3 separate regions of the Homo sapiens genome follow, and regions 1 and 2 are each linked to region 3. The links are contacts of gene promoters, found by promoter capture Hi-C in blood cells and fetal thymus (Javierre and others, 2016). All regions are on one chromosome and are shown on one strand. Each heading gives the region's core, a stretch centred on a gene start or on the middle of the fragment in contact. The rest is flanking DNA. Distances are from core to core; before and after follow the strand shown.

Region 1 (3,047 bases), core at 83-2,582, 800 kb after region 3:
CTAGTGGATATCTGTTTATAAAAAGCATTCTTTTCAAAATGAGCACTAAGATCCATTCATTCAACAAATATTTATTGAGGACCTACTATATGCCAGGCACTGTTCTGGGTGCTGAGAATATGGCAATGAACAACCACCACTACCAAAAGAAAAAGAAAAGCCCTTACCTCATAGGGTTTAAATTCTACTGAGGAAGACAAACAAATAAATATATATTATATATGAGGTAATAAGGCTGTAGAGGAAAATGAAGCAGGATGAGAGAATAGAATGTGACAGGTGGGGCTAGCGCTATTTTATATTTTATGTCAGGTGAACTGACAAAGCCTTATTAATAAGGTGACATTTGAGCAAAAGCTTAAAAGAGATAAGAAAATGAACCATGTGGATACCCAGTGAAACAGCACACAAGAATAGAGAATTATAACAAGTGCAAAAGCTTACATGTGGAAAGATGCCTGGTGTGTCTGAGAAACAACAAAGAGACTAAAGTATCTGGAACACAGAGAGTAAGAGGGAGAATAAAAGAAAACAAAGAGCTAGCCAAGGCCAAGATCACATAAGACCTTTAGGTCTGTGGTTTTTGTTTTTTTTTTTTTTGCTAAAGTGGTATTTTTTTTTTTTAGCTTTTATTTAGCAAAATAGGAAGCCTAGAAGCAGGAACAACATGATCTGACTTCTTTTTTTAAAAGGACTGCTCTAACTGCCCAATGGAGAAGAGGCTTGGGCAAGAATGAAAGCAAGGAGATCAGCTAGCACAGATAAGAGCTGGTAGTGACCAGTTAAGAGCTGGTAGTGACCTCACCCAGGGAAGTAACAGGTCAAGTGATGAGAAGTAACTAGACTCAAGATATAGTTCAAAAGAGGAGCTGAAAGAATTTCTTGGCCGGGCACGGTGGCTCACGCCTGCAATCCCAGCACCCTGGGAGGCCAAGGCAGGCGGATCACCTGAGGTCAGGAGTTCAAGACCAGCCTGGCCAACATGGCAAAACCCCGTCTCTACTAAAAATACAAAAATTAGCCAGGTGTGGTGACGGGCGCCTGTAATCCCAGCTACTCGGGAGGCTGAAGCAAGAGAATCGCTTGAATCTGGGAGATGGAGGTTGCAGTGAGCCAAGATCACGCCACTGCACTCAGCCTAGGCAACAGAGTGAGGCTCCGTCTCAAAAAAAAAAAGAAAGAATTTCTTGACTAATTGGGTGAGTGTCTAGAAGAATGGAATCACAACTTTATTGAAGCAGAAAAGACAAGATTCACATAAAGGTTTTGGTTATTGGTGTTATTTGCATGTTTTATTTCCTTCATGGGGGAAACAAAAATGCAGTTTTGGACATATCAGGAAATCCATGTATGTAAACCTATCCAAGTTCCATGTCATTACGCAAATGAATATGAATCTGAAGTTCATGGGAAAGCTCAGAATTCAGATATCAATAGGAGTTACAGCCTATAAAAGATTTTAAAGATCATAAGACCAGATGATATTAGGGATTGAGTACAGATATAGAAGAGAAAAGGTCCTAGGACTGAGTTCTGGGATTCCCCAAAGCCTAGAAGTTAAAATGATGAGGAGGATCCAGCAAAAGGGACTGAGAGGAGGAGGTGACCAAGAAGGTAGGTGTAAAAGAAGAGAGAATAGTTCCAAGAAGCCAAGTGGGCTGGGCATGGTGGCTCATGCCTATAATCCCAACACTTTAGGAGGCCAAGGCAGGAGGATCTCTTGAGCCCAGAAGTTTAAGACCAACCAGGGCAACATACCAAAACCTTATCTGTACTAAAAATTAAAAAATTAGCTGGGCATGGTGGCATATGCCTGTGGTCCCAGCTACTCGAGAGGCTGAGGTGAGAGGATTGCTTGAGTCTGAGGGGTCAAAGCTGCAGTGAACCATGATAGCACCACTGTACTCCAGCCTGGGTGACAGAGTTAGGTGAGAACCTGTCTAAAAAAATAAAAAGTCAAGGGAAGAGAGCTTTTCAAGAAAAAGTGAGTGATCAACTCTTTCGAATGCTGCTATTGGGTTGGATAAAATTTTTTAAATCAGTTGCATTATAGAGCTGGAAACTTAAGCCTGGATAGAGTGAACTCAAGAGAGAATGAAAGAAGGGATTTCCACTTTAGCCCACAAAGGATTAACTGGTACATGAATTGCACTAAAATAATAAGTAGAAAATCAGACAGAATACATGAAATAAGAGTTTTCAGGTACTGAACAATAGAAAGCTTGAGACTGTAATCCTTGAGAGAAAGGAAACAAACACAATGAGCTTACAATCACCTCAGTTTGCTCCAGAGGCAGTTTCCAGGCTGCAACACAAGAAAGGGAAAGTAAACAGAGCCTGGTAGACAACCTGAGTTGAGGAGATGGGGATCGGAGTTTGGGAAAGCTAAGGTGGCTAGAACTTATGGGGCAGAGTACCAGAGAGGAAGCAGGTGTGCAGAGTGAGCACTGCAAAGATCTGCAGAGAGGGCCACTTGAGAACTAATCTGCACATGTGTGAAGGGAAACTACTTGAGGTTGAGGAAAGAACCACCAGAAAGTATCAGACTGAACACTTCCTAGTGCCCACACAGGGTGAGAACAGTTCGGGTTTACACAAGGTGAAGAATAAAGAGACCTTATTATACACTGGGCATTGGGCAGAATTTTCAGAAGGATTTTACCTTAGTAGTGAAGCTAAATAAGTTTCAGAATAAAAAACCACAGTCATGTGCTGCATAACGACATTTCAGTCAATGATGCATCACTTATACAACAGTGGTCCCATAAGCTTATATAGTATATTTTTACAATACCTTTCCTTTGTTTAGATACACAAATACTTACCATTGTGTTGTAATTGCCTATTCAATACAGTAACATGCTGTACAGGTTCATAGCCTAGAAGCAATAGGCTATACCATATAGTCTAGGTGCGCAGTAGGCTATACCATCTAGGTGCATGTAAGTACACTGTAGGGTGTTCATACAACAATGAAATTGCCTAACAATGCATTTCTCAGAACATATCCCAATTGTTAAGCGAAGCATGACTGTACCTGGGATTTT
Region 2 (2,912 bases), core at 366-2,865, 850 kb after region 3:
GTGGCCATCAAATATAAAATGCTCAACATCCCTAATCATTAGAGAAATGCAAATCAAAACCACAATGAGATACCATCTCACACCAGCCAGAATGGCTATTATTAAGAAGTCAAAATGGCCAGGCACAGTGGCTCATGCCTATAATCTCAGCAATTTGGGAGGCTGAGGTGGGCGGATCACTTGAGGCCAGGAGTTTGAGACCAGCCTGGCCAACATGGTGAAACCCCATCTCTACTAAAAAATAAAATTAGCTGGGCATGGTAGCACACACCTGTAATCCCAGCTACTCAGGAGGCTGAGGCACGAGAATCACTTGAACCTGGGAGGCAGAGGTTGCAGTGAGCCAAAAGTGCCACTGCCCTCCGGGCTGGGCAACAGAATGAGACTCTGTCCCAAAAAAAAAAAAAAAGTCAAAAAATAATAGATGCTGGAAAGGGTGCAGAGAAAATGGAATGCTTATACACTGTAGGTGGAAATATAAATTAGTTCAATCACTGTGCAAAGGAGTTTGGAGATCTCCCAAAGAACTTAAAACAGAGCTACCATTTGAGCCAGCAATCTCATTGCTGGATATATACCCAAAGGAAAATAAATCACTCTACCAAAAAGACATATGCACTCGTATGTTCACTGCCACAGTATCCACAATAGCAAAGACATGGAATCAACCTAAGTGCCCATCCATGGTAGAGTAGATAAAGAAAATGTGGTAAATATATACCATGGACTACTACACAGCCATAAAAAGAACAAAATCATGTCCTTTGCAGCAACATGGATGCAGCTCTTGGTCATTATCCTAAGTGAATTAACACAGGAACAGAAAACCAAAGACTGCATGTTCTCACTTATAAGTGGGAGCTAAACATTGGGTATACATGGACACAAAGATGGGAACAATCAACACTGGAGATTATTAGAAGGAGGAAGAAGGGAGCAGGGAAAAAGGCTAAAAAAACTACTTATTGGGGACTATGTTCAGTAGCTGAGAGATGGTATAAATCGTACCCCAAACCTCAGCATCACGCAATATACCAATGTAACAAACCTGTACATATACCCCCTGAACCTAAAATAAAATAGGGCACCCAATTATTAGAGAATAATCATTCTTTTCAAGCACACGTGCAACATTTATCAAAGTTCATCACATATTTAACCTTAAAAGATGTCTCAGGGAACTTCAAAAAATCAATATCATGCAAAGTTATCTGACAAAAATGCAATTAGATTAATAATGTAATTAAAATAAATTTTTTTAATTAAGTAATTTAGATATTTTAAAATTCCAAATGATACATGAGTCAAAGAAGCAATTGTGATGGGAATGTTTAAATACTTCTAGAACAGAATGAAAATGGAAATACTATATCTCAAAATAGAATGCTTCAAGAAAAATTCAGTCTTAAAAGGTCAGAGTAAAAAGAAAAACTGAAAATTAATAGATTAAATATCTAATTTAAGAAGTTAGAAGCAAAGAATAACCCCACAAAAAAATTAAATAAAAGGAGATAATAAGAAAATGGCAGAAATAAAGGAGGTAGAAGATGAAGAAATAATAGAGAAGACCAACAAAGAACAACAAAATGCAGAGTTCTTTAAAATGATGACATACATACTCAAACTTCTGACAAGATTTTTTTTAAAAGAGAGGGAGAAATAAAACAAAGTAAGTAATATCAGAAATGGAAAGGGGGACAAAAACCACATGTAAAACCAGATTTAAGAGCTGGAAGATTGTAATGAATAACTTTATTATAATAAATTTGAAAACATAAAGAAAATGGACAAATTCCTAAAAATCTCATTCACTGTAACTAATCAAGAAGAAATAGAAAATCTGAGTAGTCCTATAATCATTAAAGGAATTGAATTTTTAAAAAATCTTCTCAGAAGGAAAAATATCAAGATCAGACAATTTTTCAGACAAGTTCTACCAAATCTTCAAGGAACAAATAATTCCCATCATAGGCAAACTATTGCAGAATATTAAAAAAAGAGATATTCCATAATCCATTCTACCAAACTAGTATAAGATAAATACTAATTCAGACAAAGACACTACTAAAAGGAAAATTACAGCTGAATATCCATCCTAAATATTGAAAAATCTTAAATATTAGCAAACTGAATCCAACAGTTTATAAAAAAAGATAATATATCATGACCAAGTTGAACTTGTCCCAAAAATGCAATAGTAGTTTAACATCAGAAAAATCTATTAAATGTTTCTCACCATGCTATTAGACCAAAGATGAAAAATAATACAATCATTTCAATCAATGCAGAAAAAAAAGTTTTTGATAAAATGTAACACCAAATTAGTATTTTAGCTAGGAAATGGAGGAAAGTTCTTTATTTCTGATCAAGGATATCTACTTACAGCAAACATCACAGGTTTTTTTTTTTTTACTTTTTTATCTAGAAATAATTTTAAACTTACAGGAAAATGGTATTAATAAAAACAGAAGGCCAGGCGCAGTAGCTCACACCTGTAATCCCAACACGTTGGGAGGCCAGGGCAGAAAGGATCACTTGAGGTCAGGAGTTCAAGACCAGTCTGGGCAACATAGCAAGCCCTCATCTCTACAAAACATTTTAAAAAATTAGCCAGGCATGGTGGTGCACACCTGTAGTCCTAGCTACTTGGGAGGCTGAGGAAGGAGGATCATTTCAGCCCAGGAGTTTGAAGCTGCAGTGAGCTATGGTTGTGCCACTGCACTCCAGCCTAGGTGACACAGCTAGACCATGTATCTTTTTTTTTAATTTAAAATAAAAATAAATTAAAAATAAATAAAAACAATACAGAATATATATATGCATTCTTTTCCCACATCCACCCACCGTTAACATTTTGCCCAATTTACTTTATCGTTTTGCTAGCTCTCTCTTACCTCCACATGTGTGTATGT
Region 3 (2,915 bases), core at 270-2,769:
ATTCAGCCTTCAAGAGGAATGAAATTTTGACACATGCTACAACATGGATGAAACTTGAGGACATTGTGCTAAGTGAAACAAGCCCGTCACACAAGAACCCTGCGTGACTCCACGTATGCAAGGTACTTAGAGTAGTCAAAATCATAAAGATGAAAAGGAGAATGGTAGTTGCCAGGGGCTGTGAGGAGGGGAAAGAGGAGTCAGTGTTTAATGGGCACAGAGTTTCAGTTTGGAAAGATGAAAAAGTTCTGGAGAGAGATGACGGGGAAGCTTATACAACGATGTGAATGTACTTAATGCCACTGAATTGTACACTTAAACATGGGTAAAATGGTAGCTTTTACGTTAGGTATATTTTACCAGGATAAAAAGTTTTTTGTGTTTGAAAATATACCCTCTAATAGACTCAGAGTTGCTGACAGGCCCTCTCCATGGGTTGATGTAACCGTCTCCTTACCTCAAGACGAGGTTGACCCATCCAAGATTGGAGGGAACTTATCCTATTTTCAGATTATTTCCAGGGAAGGGAGCCCATGACATTATTAGGCAATCTTTTCCAGTGTCTCAAAACCCCAGACATTCTGGGTACCAGACCTTTCCTGCTGCACCTGAAGTTGATTTTCCTTGGTCAGTAAGTGCTTTGTCAGGCCACAGACTTTTCATGCACTCAAAGGCTCTAGTTACACCATCCCTAGCGTAGATCTGATGGTGCCAAGTAACAAGCCAGCAAGTGGACTTTGGAGGCCCAGCAAGCCTCCCTGTCTCACAGGCTTCTCATCAGTATAATGGATAAACAGTGCGAGGCTTGGATTCCTAAGCAGTCCTGGGACACAGGCCCCGCCAGGCCCTGGCAGGTGAAGAGCCTACCATTTCTCACTTCATTTAGGATGTATAATAGTTTGTTGGACGCTAGAACTGTACCCTTTCAGATCTGTGTCTTTACTTTTCAGCTGGAGGCCTCTTGCTGACAGGGTAGCGTTTCCCAAAGACACGGGAGCTGAGCTGGTGAGTCATTTCAACAGCCCTTACACTCTCCTCTGACCAGAGACCACATGACATATTAATCAGCTGCTTGAAAGGTATACCTGGCAGGCATGTTTCCTGCAGCCTGGAAGATGCTGACCTCGTCAGCTTTGAAACATCAAAGGGCTAACAAGAGAACAACAGGCTGAGAAAGACCTCATCACCTGGGTGCCTGTTGACCGCAGCCTTGTAAGGCCCAACACAGCTGAGATGTGCTGTCTGGAGCTCGGAGGAAGTGGAGCTTTTTCTGCTGTGAGGACCCGCCTTCAGCCCCCTTTTGGGGCACAGGAAGGGGAGGGAGTGAGCCTAAATTGTGGCCCCATGCTTAGTGACTCAGATGTTACTGCTACCACAAAGGGAAATTCATGTGGGGGTGGACATCTCCAGAGACCTCACTCACCTGTGATTTGGGGGATAATAGCATCACTCATGTGTTCACGTGCCAGGCCTGTCACCCCGGAACATTAGTCAAAGGGCTGTGTTGACAGTGATTTCAACTCTTGAATTATACGAAGGACCTGGCCGCAAGAAGGCATTGAGCCCCGAGGAGGACAACAGGCCTCAGGTACTTCATGTGATTAAAGCTGAGACAAGGGGAGTCCCATGGGTCAGTCCTGTAACTGGGGTCTGATATACACTAGTGATAGGCATTAGCATAGTTTGCACATTATATGATAGTCTTGGTCCTTTTCATTTCCTGATAAGCTGGAATGTCTGACAGAGTAAATTCCAGATGCCCTTGTGGAATTCTCATTACGATCATGTTGCTAAGGAACTGTCTTCTACCTGTATGCAATTTGGAAATACTATTAATAGTATTAACATGGAGTTTTGCAGTGTGTGGGTTTATTTCTTATTGTATTTATAATCACCCCCACCACTACCTTCCCACCGCTGGCTCACCATCTGAGGAGCTGGCATCAGGAAACTCAAGAAAGAAGGAAGGAAGGAAGGAAGGAAGGAAGGAAGGAAGGAAAGAAGGAAGGAAGGAAGGGAAAGGTTGTCCAGGCTTCACAGGAAGAACTGCATTTGTATTATTCTGTATTGAATTCTCAGGACCTCCACATTGCAGGCATCTAGAGGCTCCAATTAATAGTTGATAAATCTTGAAGGGAGGAAAAAATAGTCACAGAAAGTTCACTTGAGTGACCTGAAATTCTATAGCAATTTAGCCAGGGAGCCGGGAGGAGAATATGCCCTTCCAACTTGCAGGCCAGCTCTCTGCAGGAAGCCAGGCAGCTCTCCCAGGGGAAGCAGTGGCCAGGGCAAGCATGGGTCTTGAAGCTCAGGACTGGCTTTAGGACTCTGGCTCAGACAAGATGGGTGGCTCAAAGGTATTGAAGGGCTAGGTAGGGCCCTGAAAATTGGGCCTTTCTGCAGCAATCATCAGGGAGACTAATGGTCCTGGGCTAGGGAAGGAGTCTTCTTGGCCCAGAATGGCCAAGCAGCCAAATATTAGAGCACCTCCAGGGAGGTGTCCCTGGAAAGGGTCCTCCCCCAGTCAGCTCCTGCGGAGTGCAGGCAGGTTTGGGGGTCTCTCCTCTAGGAGAGATCCAGGGAGCTTGAGAGCAAAAGTGACAATGTGCCTGCCTTCTTCCTTCTCTGTAGGGCTCTGTTCTCTTTCTTCTTTTTTGAGGCAGGATCTTTTGCTTTATTGTCCAGGTTGGAGTGCAGTGGCATGATCACGGCTCACTGCAGCCTCAGCCTCCTGGGCTCAAGCAATCCTCCCACCTCAGCTTCCTGAGTAGCTGAGACCATGCCTGGCTAATTTTTAAGTTTTTTTGTAGAGACGAGGTCTCATTGTGTTGCCCAGGCTGGTCTTGAACTCCTGGGCTCAAGCAATTCTCCCACCTCAGCCTCCCAAAGCACTGGGATTATAGGCGTGAGCCACT

What was found. Contacts are between HindIII fragments. The CHiCAGO score rates a contact against its expected background, and 5 or more counts as called.
Region 1: a contact is called between a fragment that was not itself captured here and the fragment with the promoter of RAD51B-AS1 in region 3, in 1 of 17 cell types (neutrophils). The highest score is 5.7, in neutrophils.
Region 2: a fragment that was not itself captured here is called in contact with the fragment with the promoter of RAD51B-AS1 in region 3 in 1 of 17 cell types (neutrophils); the score reaches 11.0 in neutrophils.

Annotation. Positions count from the first base shown.
Region 1 is chr14:67,880,882-67,883,928 of GRCh38, reverse strand. All of the region lies in intron 5 of RAD51B (RAD51 paralog B), which reads right to left. Among named protein-coding and RNA genes, the nearest start is that of RAD51B, 63 kb to the right of the region's middle. The HindIII fragment of the contact is 1,782 bases long and covers 442-2,223 here.
Region 2 is chr14:67,838,304-67,841,215 of GRCh38, reverse strand. All of the region lies in intron 4 of RAD51B (RAD51 paralog B), which reads right to left. Among named protein-coding and RNA genes, the nearest start is that of RAD51B, 20 kb to the right of the region's middle. The HindIII fragment of the contact is 6,831 bases long and covers 1-2,912 here.
Region 3 is chr14:68,684,044-68,686,958 of GRCh38, reverse strand. RAD51B-AS1 (RAD51B antisense RNA 1) reads left to right here and starts at 1,519. Exons shown (of 4, transcript XR_007064220.1): 1 at 1,519-1,588. RefSeq lists enhancers at 1,182-1,231, 2,815-2,915. The HindIII fragment of the contact is 3,133 bases long and covers 273-2,915 here.